Linked DNA regions of Homo sapiens: regions 2 and 3 are each linked to region 1. Evidence: promoter capture Hi-C in human tissues and cell types (Jung and others, 2019). All regions are on one chromosome and are shown on one strand. Each heading gives the region's core, a stretch centred on a gene start or on the middle of the fragment in contact. The rest is flanking DNA. Distances are from core to core; before and after follow the strand shown. Region 1 holds the start of CNTN5 (contactin 5). Region 2 overlaps LINC02713 (long intergenic non-protein coding RNA 2713). Region 3 has its middle 150 kb from the start of LINC02553.

What was found. Contacts are between HindIII fragments. The study calls those that stand out against the background at their distance.
Region 2: a contact is called between a fragment that was not itself captured here and the fragment with the promoter of CNTN5 in region 1, in 1 of the 25 tissues and cell types used here (mesendoderm cells).
Region 3: a contact is called between a fragment that was not itself captured here and the fragment with the promoter of CNTN5 in region 1, in 1 of the 25 tissues and cell types used here (dorsolateral prefrontal cortex).

The regions. Positions count from the first base shown.
Region 1 is chr11:99,017,972-99,022,304 of GRCh38, reverse strand. It overlaps CNTN5 (contactin 5), which reads right to left and starts at 1,356. Exons shown (of 25, transcript NM_014361.4): 1 at 1,035-1,356. The HindIII fragment of the contact is 4,883 bases long and covers 1-3,250 here.
Region 2 is chr11:97,939,603-97,943,853 of GRCh38, reverse strand. LINC02713 (long intergenic non-protein coding RNA 2713) reads left to right here. Exons shown (of 6, transcript NR_183633.1): 2 at 1,090-1,248. Among named protein-coding and RNA genes, the nearest start is that of LINC02713, 15 kb to the left of the region's middle. The HindIII fragment of the contact is 5,758 bases long and covers 1-4,251 here.
Region 3 is chr11:97,103,057-97,107,207 of GRCh38, reverse strand. No RefSeq gene overlaps it. Among named protein-coding and RNA genes, the nearest start is that of LINC02553, 150 kb to the left of the region's middle. The HindIII fragment of the contact is 8,793 bases long and covers 1-4,151 here.

The sequences.
Region 1 (4,333 bases), core at 107-2,606:
TGCATTAATTTTTAAATTTGACTATTTGTCTATAATTTTAAATGCTAGTATTCTAATGAACATCTACTTCTTTCATCCTTATTTCCACAGTCGTAATTGAGAATCAAAGTAGAAGTATTGACCCTCTAAATGATTTTCTCTTTTAAATTAAGAAACAAATGAATGAAATGTAGGTAAGGCATTGAACATACAACAGTTTAAAAGTTTTTTGCTTCTCACCTGCATTTAAATTACCACATGAAATTGTATTTTTCTTGGGAGAACAGTTCTAAGATTTAAAAGTAATATAATTCTAAAATATTTAGTGGATTCTGGTTCTTTCGCAAATAAATATAGTTGAAACAACTTATTGTTCAGGTCATCAGAGTAATTCTCAGGTTTGTGTATGTGCAAATTGATATTCTCTTCCGTATATCTCCCTACAAAACATGGTAAGGATGTCTGAACATAATTTTTTAATCTATCACAATCCTATACAACCTTTAGAAAAAAGCTCAGCATAATCCAAGATACAGTTTTTCTCAGTCTCACGAACTTTGTAGAACTCCACTTATAGAGCATCCCTACTGAATTTTAACAAGTTATTGCAATGCCAGATGCCCAATTATTTAGTCTCGGAAACTCATTGCTCAAACATAAGGCATACATTCAGTACCTGAGAACGGCATCCTATTTTCCAAACATTTAGTTTCTTTTGTAGAAACATCCTCACTTTATCCTGGCATTTATTGCCTTACAATTTGCAATTTGCGTGTAGGAATTGCTTACTCTTATTTTGGGTGGCATTAGGAGATATACAAATAGGTTATATTTACTCTTGTTTCAACTTTTTGCCATAAAATCCCAGCAGGAAATAAAGTCGTGTTTTGTTTCCTTTATTTAAAAAAGCTTCATCTTACAGTTTTTACATTCTGGCAACATGGCAAGAAAGGATGGCTTTGCAGAACAGAGTGTGTCAAAAATCCTAAGTGGCTGGGAGATGAAGTGCACAATCACAGAACGCAGTCACTGGCAAAGGAATGTCAGCCACTTACCAATAAGATGCCAGACTCCACTGTCCTTCCTCTGTGACTCTCAATTCCTGTCTCCCATCCTCCTGCCCATCAGCACAGTTCAGAGAGAGCGGTTCCTCGGGTCCTTTGCAGCCTGTGGCAGAGGCGAATTGCGGAGTTCTTAATCATTCAGAGGGAATCCTCCAGCTTGCCCTGCCTCTCGCAGCAGACGGGACCCAGGTAACGCATCCTCTCCGCCCCGAGCTTTAATGGCACTTTGGCTGCCGCCTTCTCGCAGTTCCGCTCCCCCACGCCGTAGTTGGTTATATTGGGAAGTAGGTGCGGCGCCTCCTGCGGCTGGTGTGTTTGGGGCTCGCGTGTTTTCCTCCAATGCGTCCGCGCGCCCTGCGCCCCGCGCCTCTGACTGGCTGTGTCCTCCCGGGGCGGCCCCTCGCCCCTCCCCGGCCGCCCGCGCTGTCACCGGCGCCCGCGTCCAGCGCCTCACTGCCTCTTGCTGCAAAGGTTCATTGAGCATGTCCCTGGGCTTAACGAACTGTGCGCCTCCCGGAGGGTGCTCTGTGTTTCTCCACTCGTCTCACTAGTCAACCGGCATTTTCCTTCCCTGCTAAGTACAGAGGACCTGCCCCCCTTCCCCGAGCGTTTCTGCTCTGCAACCCCTCCGTATTTAACATTCATAGATTACAAAGCAAACGTGCTGGCTGGAGTCGGCACGGGAGATCCAGGCGAGAGTCCCTTCCTCCGCTCCTGTCTTCACTCTGATTCCTGTAGTCCCCGGCTCACACCTCTGACAGCAGCAGCACAGACTGACGCGTTCACTTAGGTCGGTTTGAGAGTGGACTTTTTCACTTTGCAGAATTTTCTTAAGTCCTGAATGGGAAGCACTTCTCTTTTGTTTCTGCACTTACGCGTTTCATCTAAGGACTATCAGGCTCTGCCTGTTTATATTTCTCTTTGATTTGGGGTGTTGACTCAGTTCTAAAAAAAAGCGAAGGAATGGTCTCAGCAACCTTTTTTTCGGAATTTTTATATTACAATGGCTGTAATTGGAAAAATAACACAGGTAGTAAATCCACAGTGTGGCAGCTTTAGTGCCATTGTTCTGCCAGTCCTCCTCTCTACTTTTTTTTTTTTTTTCCTCTCAGTCTTTGAGTCGTTTTCCAATTCCCACGATTGGGCTGATGGTAATTGGGTATTTGTTAAATAAATTATATAACATTTCCTTTGCAATATATTTCCATAGAGAATGTGGTTTGCACCTGTATTTAATGGAAAGGAAATCCCACGTACTGCTTTCTATCTCTGTGTCTGTATAAGAAACTGCATGGGAGTCTAGGGTCGCACCCCGTGTCCGCTGGTGTCCGTTTTTCATGTGTGTTTGAGAGCAGCCTGACCCTGGACTGACGCTGATTCTTCTGCTCACTGAATCCCCCGATGGGGTCTGACTGGCTCTAATTGGCAAGGAGAGTACAGTGCCAGGCAGCCTGTAGCTGGAAGCCGTCTACCACTAGCCCTGTGTTCTTTCTCTTGCAGTTTTTCTGGTAATTAAAATTAGTCTTTTCCTGTTTCTTGGCTGCTTCTCATTCATCCAATGATGTACAAACACCCAGTCTCTGCTTTTAATCGCTATCCTCAGGATCTAGGCTGATTGCTTGTTCTGTAGCAAAGACAAATTTGTGTGCATTTAATACTTCTCCACTCTTCCATACTTTTTATATTCGTGTTCCTGCTTTCCAGTAACTAGGTTATCTTCTTTATGTGTTAACTGAGGGATCGTTGTGGAGATTCCCCTTCTGTGGCTTTTTCTCTGCCCCACTGGCTCTTCTCCTCTGTCAGGCTGTCGGTTCACAGAGAGAACTACCAGGACTTTTATAACCACATTAAATACATCACAAAATAAATTCAAAGTGTAGGAGCTCTAACGCATTCTTTTTATTGTTCGATGAGGTTTTTGCCTTTAAAAGTGTATAATTGAGCACATGCAGCCTGAAAGAGGGATCGGGAGTGTAGAAAGCTTTCTGAAAGTTCTCTTCCCTTCTTAGAACACCATTCTATATTACCCATGATCCGATAATTTGGGCATTTTGAGTCATTATGTCACATAATTTCTTTCAACTAGCTTTGCCCTAGAAAGGATGTAAGTTGGCTTATAAAAATCTATTCAGTTTAAAAAAATGAATAAAAAATGTAGGTCAGTGAGATCAAGACAAACGGTAAAGTGATAGGAGGAGAGATAAGATGAAGCCAGAAATGAGGTTTATAGAGAAAACTGCATTGATGTTTTTGTTACAAATGGTGCTAGGTCTGCCATTAACTTTGTTAGCAGCCAATGTAAAGAAGGAAATGCTATCGGTCACATGATTCATGGTGCCCTCCTACCATTAACATGAACAAGAAAATTTACCTTTTACATGATGTAAATGGACTAAATATTTCTCCTTTCTTAAGCAAGAACTAAATAAAAGCTTTTAATGTTTCTACTTTTTATAAAGAGAGCAATATTATCACAAGACTATGGTGTGAATATATTTTTGAAACAAGTAGATAATGTAATAGCACTTTTCCTTGCGAAGTTATCTGATGCTTTAGAGGGAGAGAAAGGAAACGTTGAATCTGTTTAATTAAAAATAGTAAGGTCTATTTCTGTCAGTTCAAATTTAAAATGTTGACTTCAATCATTATTTGGGGGTGACTAGGTTACCTGGCTACACTTCATTCAGGACCCAGAAAGAGTGACTATATTTATTCTCATGTCTTTTATGACTTTTAATGTTCTAATTTGTAATAATATACAATTATATATTCCCTATTAATATCTATATATGTAACAGACAAACTGTTAGTCTATCTGACTCATCTTTCTTTAGAATTTTGCTGTTATGGAGTTAACTTATGTACTGTATATTTTTACAATTTTCTGCTTGGAGAGTAAGGGCTCTATAGATCAGGTACACTTCTGTATCCTTTTATATCCACAGTGTTCAGGTTTAAGCAGGTCAATGTCTGGAATTAGAGAAACAACAGTGCTTAAAATAAGAAACAAACAAACAAAACTCCTTGTTAGAGTTCCACTAAAAAGAAACAAACTACCTTGTGTTTTCCAAGTAAACATCAAATCTTTTCACATACCATGACCAAGATTTTCTACTATTGACATGTGAGAATGGGATTTTAAGTTATAGTTGTTTTGATGTAAGATTTGTCTTTAAAAGATATAAAAGTATGTATGCCCCATTATTAAATTCCAATGCTGTTTTCTTAATAAAATGGCATTATTAAAAGATCACTGGTTTTCTCTGTTTGATGCTAATGACATTTTTGAA
Region 2 (4,251 bases), core at 723-3,222, 1.1 Mb after region 1:
GAAATAGTGGTACAGGCATTAGATAGATATTTTTATATTAACAGGTAGAAATTTGTAGGAGTAAAGGATCACTAGTTCCAAGCAACTCCAAATCTTCGCAGAGTAGATCTGTAAATTCAAGGCTTAGGCTTAATCCTTTTAGGCTTGATGGTCTGTTCTCTGGCTCCACTCTCTGGAATTAACTTTGTAATGACCTTTGTGACAATTCTTCCCTCAGAATTATTCTTCATTTTTCTGAAGGTTAGCACTTGTTTTCTGCCAGAGTTGCTCTAGCAGGACACGTTTTGCTTGTAGAATCCCCAAATAATGACAGCCTTTTCATTTCATCCCATTTCTGTCCTCTTCAGTCCAAGCTGCCAGTGTTTTTGGTGGTATAACATTCTGAAAAATCTTGAGGGTCTCTGTGTCTGTCAGGGGGACCCACATTGTTAAACAAAGGGTTCTCCACAGATCCTTTCTTTATAGCTTGTCTCTATTTATGGCTTCTGTGGAAATGATTGATTGGATGCATGAGTTATACATCTCATGTCTTTACCAGAAGTTTGTCCAGCCACACTCTACCCTTTCTCCAGAGCATGCTCTAGCATCTTTTGCAGTCTTGATAGGCTGAGAATTTTCCAAATCATTGAGTGTTGCTTCCTTTTTGCTTAACAGTTCCTTCATCGATGTATCTTTGTCTTCTTGCATTTTACTATAAGTAATAAAAAGAATCCAGGCCACACCTTCAAAACTCTGCTTAGAAATCTCTTCTTCAAAATATCCTAGGTGAATTCTTAAAAGTTCTTTTCCTCACCCATTAATAGAAACAATTAAGTCAAGTTTTCTGCCAATTTATGACAAGGATTACATTTCCTCCAGTTCCAAATATCATGTTTCTTTTCTCTGTCCTAGACCTTGCCATAAGTACTTATAACCTCTATATTTTCACCAACAGTCTCTCCAAGGCAATATATACTTTTTCTGTTACATGACTCAAAATTCTTCCAATCTCTAGCCATTTCCCATTTCCAAAGCCACTTCCACATTTCTTAGTATTTTTTTTATATTTGCAGCCCACTTCCCAGGACTAAACCTTTATTTGTCTTCTAGGTCTACTGTTATGAATTGCCACAACTTGGAGGCTTAGAACAACACAAATTAGTACTCTCACAGTCCTGAAGGCTACAGCTCTGCAATCAAGATATCAGCAAGGCCATCATTCCACTAAGGCTCTAAGGAAGAATCCATTTTTGCCTCTTCCTGCTTCTGGTAACCCCAAGCATTCCTTGACTTATGGCAGCATAATTCCCATTCTGTTTCTGTCTTCACATGGTTTTCTTTTCTGTGTCCACGTATGTTCTTTTCTGCCTCTTATAAGGACACTGTCACTGGATTTAAGGTCCACTCTGATTCACCATGATTTCATCTTAATTTCTACCTCAGTTACATTTACAAAGATTCTATGTCAAAAGAAGGTCACATTCTAGGGCACCTGGTAGACTTAAATTCTGGAGGGAAACAATTCAACCCACTGTGGTTGGCTTTAGATTATTTAATCTGATAATCTGTTTCTATTAATTACAGTATTTTGTTCATTTATATTTATGGAAGTTACAAATAGAGTTATATTTAAACCTAAATAACATGAGCTGCTTTTATTTGTCATATACAGGCATAGCTTGAAGATATTTTGGGCTCAGTTCCAGACCCACTGCAATAAAATAAATATCATACTAAAGCAAGTTATGTGGACTTTTCTGTTTTCCAGTGCACATTAAGGTTGTGTTTGCCCTGTACCCAAGGCTGTTGAGTGTGTAATAGCATTATGTCTAAGAAAACAATGTGTATATGTTAACTCAAAAATACTTTATTGCTAAAATAGGTTAACAACCATCTGAGACTTCAATGAGTCTGACTCTTTTCTGGTGGAGGATCTTGCCTTGATGTTGATGATTACTAACTGATCAGCATGGTGGTTGCCGAAGGTTTGGTGGTTGTGGCAATTTCTAAAAATAAGACAACAGTGAAGTTTGCAGCATCGATTGACTTTTCCTTTAACGAAAGATTTCTCTGTAATATGTTCTCTGATGCTATTTGATAGCATTTTATTCACTGTAGAACTTCTTTAAAAACTGGAGGCAGTTTTTTCAAACTCTACTGCTGTTTTATCAAATGAGCATATGAATATTCTAAATCCTTTGTCATTTCAATGATGTTCACAGCATCTTCACCAGGAGTTGGTTCTGTCTCAAGAAACTACTTTCTTTGTTTTTCTGAAGGAAGCAACTTCTCATCTGTTCAAGTCTCATCATAGGATTGAAGCAATTCATTCACATCTTCAGGGTCCACTTCTAATTGTACTTCTCTTGCCATTTCCATAACATCTGTAATTAGTTCCTTTACTGAAGTCTTGAACTCCTCCAAGTCATTTATGAGTGTTGGAATCAGCTTCTTCCAAATCCCTGGTAATGTTGATATTTTGACTTCCTTTCATGCATCATGAATGTTCTTGATGACATCTAAGATTGTGAATTATTTCCAAAAGATTCTCCATTTACTTTTCCCAGATTCACCACAGGGATCACTATCTATGGTATCTAGGGCCTTATAAAATGTATTTCTTAAATCATAAAAATTGAAAGTCTAAATTACTCCTTTATGCATTGGCTGCAGAATGGATGTTGTGTTAGTAGGCATGAAAACAATTCCAATCTCCTTATACAACTCCTTCAGAGCTCTTGGATTACTAGGTGCATTCTCAGTTAACAGTAATACTTTAAAATAAATCTATTTTACTGAGAAGTAGGTCTTAATATTGGACTTAAGGTATTCAATAAACTATGCTGCAAACAGATGTTCTGTCATCCAGGCTTTGTTGTTCCATTGCTAGAGCACAGGCAGAGTAGACTTAGCATAATTCTTAAGGGCCCTAGGATTTTCATCTCGGTAAAGAAGCACTGGCTTCAACTTAGTCACCTGCATTAGCATTTAAGAGAGTGCTCCTAAGAAAGCTCCTTTGAAGCTTTCAAGCCAGGCATTGGCTCCTCCTCTCTAGCTATGAAAGTCCTAAATGGTATCTTTTTCCAACATAAGGCTATTTCATCACATTGAAAATCCATTGTTTGATGTAGTCACTTTGATCAATGATCTTAACTAGATCATCTGGATAACTTGCTGCAACTTCCACTTCAGCATTTGTTACTTCAACTTGTGCTTTTATGTTATGGAGATGGCTTCTTTCCTTAAACCTTGTGTACCAACCTCTGCTAGCATCAAACGTTGTTTCTGCAGCCTCCTTAACTCTCTCAGCTTTCACAGAATTCATAAAAGTTTGAGCCTTGCTCTGGATTAGGCTTTGGCTTAAGGCAATACTGTGGCAGTTTTGATCTTCTATCCAGACCACTTAAACTTTCTATCAGAATAAGGCTGTTTTATTTTATTTATTTATTTTTTATCATCGATGTGATCAGTGGCATAGCACTTTTAGTTTTCTTCACAAAATTTTCTTTTCCTTTCACGACTTGACTAACCAGTTGGCTCAAGAGGCCTTGATTTTGGTCTATTGCAGATTTCAAAGGGCTTCCTCACTAAGCTTAATCATTTGTAGCTTTTGATTTAAAGTGAGAGACATGCAACACTTATTTTCATTTGAACACTTAAATGCCATTGTAGGGTTATTAATTGGCCTAATTTCAGTATTGCTGTGTCTCAGGGGATAGTTGTGTCTCAAGAAAAGGGAGTAAGATAGAGGAATGGCCAGTCAGTGGAGCAGTCAGTACACACACATTTATTGATTAAGTTTGCCATCTTTTATGGGCATGATTTGTGGCACCCCAGAACAATTGTAATATCAGAGATCACTGGTCATAGATCATCATAACAGATATAATAAGGGAAAAGTTCAAAATATTTTGAGAATTTCAAAATGTGACATAGAGACATTAAATTAGCACATCCTATTGGAAAAATCGTGCCAATAGACTTGCTCAATGAAGTTGCTATAAACTTTCAATTTTTAAAAAATGCAATATTTGCAAAGCACAATAAAGTGAAATGCAAAAATGAGGTATGCTTGTATATTGAAATTGCCTATTATTCCTTTTTTTCTTGTTTTCTGTAGTCATTTTTTTTCCTGTTGTTCCAAATTTAAGCATTATAACTTTGAAACTGTATACATGTTTACTATCATGTAGGGGTTATGCTAAAAATTATGTTTTTTACTTGAAGTGTAATATTAATTAGTACTGTTCTCTTTCTCTTCCATGATAAAAG
Region 3 (4,151 bases), core at 752-3,251, 1.9 Mb after region 1:
ACATGAATTTTTATAAGAATATTTTGTCCATATTTTTCTACCTGACTTCTGGTTCTCAGCCATAGAAATGTGCTGCCAGAATAGGTTGTATAGCTTCCAAAACTGATGGAAAATTATCAAAAATTAACAAATTACAAACATGGTTTATCCCATCTAAGATAAATGAAACCAGAATGCATGAACATGGCTGGTTCTCAAAACAGCATCTATAAATTCTCAATAAAAAGTTCCCAATTAGATTACAGATGACGTACTTTGTAATTCCTTACATTTCTCCTGATTTTATGTTCAACATAAAGAAATCAATCATGACATCCCCATCTAGAGGCAAACCAAAATGTAATTTTGTATAAAAACGTTAATCTTTGTAGTTAGTACAAATGCTATAAATTTTCTGTTATAATATCATAGTTCATTTTATGTTAAAATGGAGAAAAATCATCTGTGTGGAAAAATTAAATTTTACCTCAAATGATAGTTAACATTGAGATGCATCAAGACTACTAAGAAACAAGGATATCCTTACATTCAAAATGGTAAAGTTGATACATTGATACACATTGGATATTTTAATTCATTTATATATATATATAACATTGATACTCAATATAACCATCAAGGTAATCTGAAAGTAATATCACTGTTGGATAACTGGAATGTGACAATTTAGTGATAATTTACTTGTATGCTGTTAGGAAAAAGATGATAAGAATTTTACTTTCATAGGTGGGAATTGAACAATGAGATCACATGGACACAGGAAGGGGAATATCACACTCTGGGGACTGTGGTGGGGTGGGGGGAGGGGGGAGGGATAGCATTGGGAGATATACCTAATGCTAGATGACGAGTTAGTGGGTGCAGCGCACCAGCATGGCACATGTATACATATGTAACTAACCTGCACAATGTGCACATGTACCCTAAAACTTAAAGTATAATAAAAAAAAATAATAAAAAAAAATAAAACAAGAGGACCAAGAAAAAAAAAAGAAAAAAAAAAAAAGAATTTTACTTTCAAAAAAAGATTGAGAAAAAATGTGAGAGACAGACTGACAGAGATGGAGAATAAAAATGAGAGAGAGAAAAGCAAACATTTTCCTACGGGGATAAGGGGAGAGTCTTGCTTGGAAATATTGACTTTTCTTTGGCTTGTCTATTTCTAACCTGACCAATTTCTTTTTTCACAGACTCCTTTGAGAATTTGACCATCTCTTCAGAAATATGCACTGTTTTAGATAGGTTATTAGGTCCCCTAAATTTCATTTATGGTACCCAGGTTAAGAAGATAAGTTAAAGAAGGTGAAAATTCCTCAGTCCTCCTTAGTTAATGTTCCTAGTCACACATTCACTCTCAGTCATTCACAGAACACCAGTAAAATCAAGATTCTGAGGACCAGATCATGATTCATGGTTAATTTAGCAATATCAATACTCCTGGATGGGGTGCTTTCTGGACTGGCATGAGGCTTTTTTCAGACACCCCCTGTTTTGCTCTGTGCTTCATATATGAACACGGAATCTCTAAAAACAACAATAGAAAAATAAAAATACTAAATTTATTATGTACCAATGCTATTCACAGGTGGGTTATTCTTGACTACAGAACACTGTATTTCTTCGACAAGAATGTTTTTTACTAAAATTTCAAGAAAAATACTCTGAAGTATCACTGATCTCAGTGAAACTTCTGAAATTTATATTTTTTTCATCCAAAAAGCTTTTCACCTCCAAAGAATTTTGAGTGAATTTTTAATTAAATCCTGATAATCCCACTACTGAGCTAAAGAAGATATGCAATTAATCTATAAGCATCGTCCATGTTGCTCAACTTTTTTACTCATCAGCAAAGATATAATTTTGAATGTATAGAAAAAATATATAGAAAGTTGCTGTCATATTATTATAAATTACATCTCTCTCAAAGAGAACTTTTTGGTGGGATGGATAACGTATATGATATGTAATATATGATATGTATGTATTATTTCTCCAACTATTATAACATTGATAATATATAATCAATGTAATATATATACAGTGATACAGTATAATCAATATGTAAAATCCATATGAAGTCAATATCACTATTTCTACCATATATTGTTACCTAAGCACACTCATATGCATGATTCATGTTAGCATATACATTTTTTACCCAACAGTTCAGTATTTGTCAAGGCAGAGTAACTCTACTTATAAAATTACTCTTATGGAAAAGTAACCAAGGTGAAATGTAAGTGTATTTATTTTAGTCTGTCATAACAAGTAGTGCTAGCCAGATTTAATACTTCTGTTGGGACTTATACCACGGTAATATTATTTTTTCATTCCAAATTGCTACCCAGAATAGGTGAAAAACAAGAGTATCACATCATCAGCTAGGCCAATAAGAAATCACAGTGCCCTGGTATGACTCTCAACAAGGCTTTTTCTTATTCCAACAATGCAAAACATAGAATTTATGCTGATAATGAGATAGAACCTTAAGCGAGAGAAGGAACTATCTAGACAAAGATAAAACCAGGACAGTTTTTGGAGGGGAAAGAAATTTAACCTTTTTTTAGGAAAACTGTAAATCTAACAATAAAGGAGAGGTGGCATGGCTAAGACTACCATGTGAAGCTGGAATAATGGCCCTTATCTTTGCTCGTTAGTAATTAGCAAATTGATGCATATAATTTAAGATTACACTGGAATTCTCCATATACATGTACAGCCTACATGTTAAATATTTGCCACGCATGCTTTAGAGTCTTGTATCTAAAGAAAATTCTTAGCATGATTTGACTAAAGGGTCTGCAGATAGAATAGAGGACACTGTCTGGTTAGTACAGTCTGTGAATATTCCCATTTAGTATTTTTATATCTAATGAAAAGGGATAATCATAAGAAATTTATATCAGTTACTTGGATCACATATCTTTTGCAAAACACAAAAAACAATATCTAATGATAGCTTACTTGTTATTGCTCCTCAGATACCTCCCAGTTAATTCTTCAAATTTTCCTCAATCCAGTTCCTAATTTGGAGTTCTTTGTTGTCATTAATGGTAAACAACATCTACTCTAAAGTCCCCAACAGAAACATGAAGCTATTCATTCTCTCATTCACCCATTTATCTAATTTTTATATGTTAACATTTAATATCACTTACATTAACCTCCATTATTCCCAAACTTCATATAACTTCCCAAACTTCATAGGGCCAAACATCAATATTTTCTAAGATCTCTCCAAATGATTTTACTATTTACCAGGGGTTGATAAACACTGCATTGGAAAGATGGACTGAATAATGCAAAAATGCAAGAAAAAATGGCGCATCCAGGATAAGTAGTTTCTCTTCTTGAATTTTATAATTCCAATTATTTTTTTTTTAAATAAAATTATTTTCTTGCAGTTCTGGAGGCCAAAAGTCCAAGATCAAGGTGTCAGGAGGTTTGGCTTCTTCTGAGGGCTCTCTTGTTGGCTTGCCTTCTCACTGTTTTCTTATGTCGTCATTTCTGTATCTGCATGTGCACCCCTGATATCTCTTTGTGTGTCCAAATGGCCTCTCATAGAAGGACACCAGTTAGTTTGGATTAGGGCCCACCCAAATGGTCTTATTTTGACTTAATCACTTGTTTAAAGGCACTATCAACAAATGCAGTCAAATTCTGAGATACAGGGGTTGGCCTTCAACATGTGAATTTTGGAGAAACACATTTCATTCCACAACATTGCCATAGTAAATGGAACACAAAAAAAAGGCAGAGGTTGCAATCCTAGTCTCTGGTAAAACAGACTTTAAACCAAGAAAGATCAAAAGAGACAAAGAAGGCCATTACGTAATGGTAAAGGGATCAATTCAACAAGAAGAGCTAACTATCCTAAATATATATGCACCCAATATAGGAGCACCCAGATTTATAAAGCAAGTCCTTAGAGACTTAGACTCCCACACAATAATAATGGGAGACTTTAACACCCCCCAGTCAACATTACATAGATCCACGAGACAGAAAGTTAACAAGGATATCCAGGAATTGAACTCAGCTCTGCACCAAGTAGACTTAATAGACATCTACAGAACTCTCCACCCCAAATCAACAGAATATACATTCTTCTCAGCATCACACCACACTTATTCCAAAATTGACCACATAGT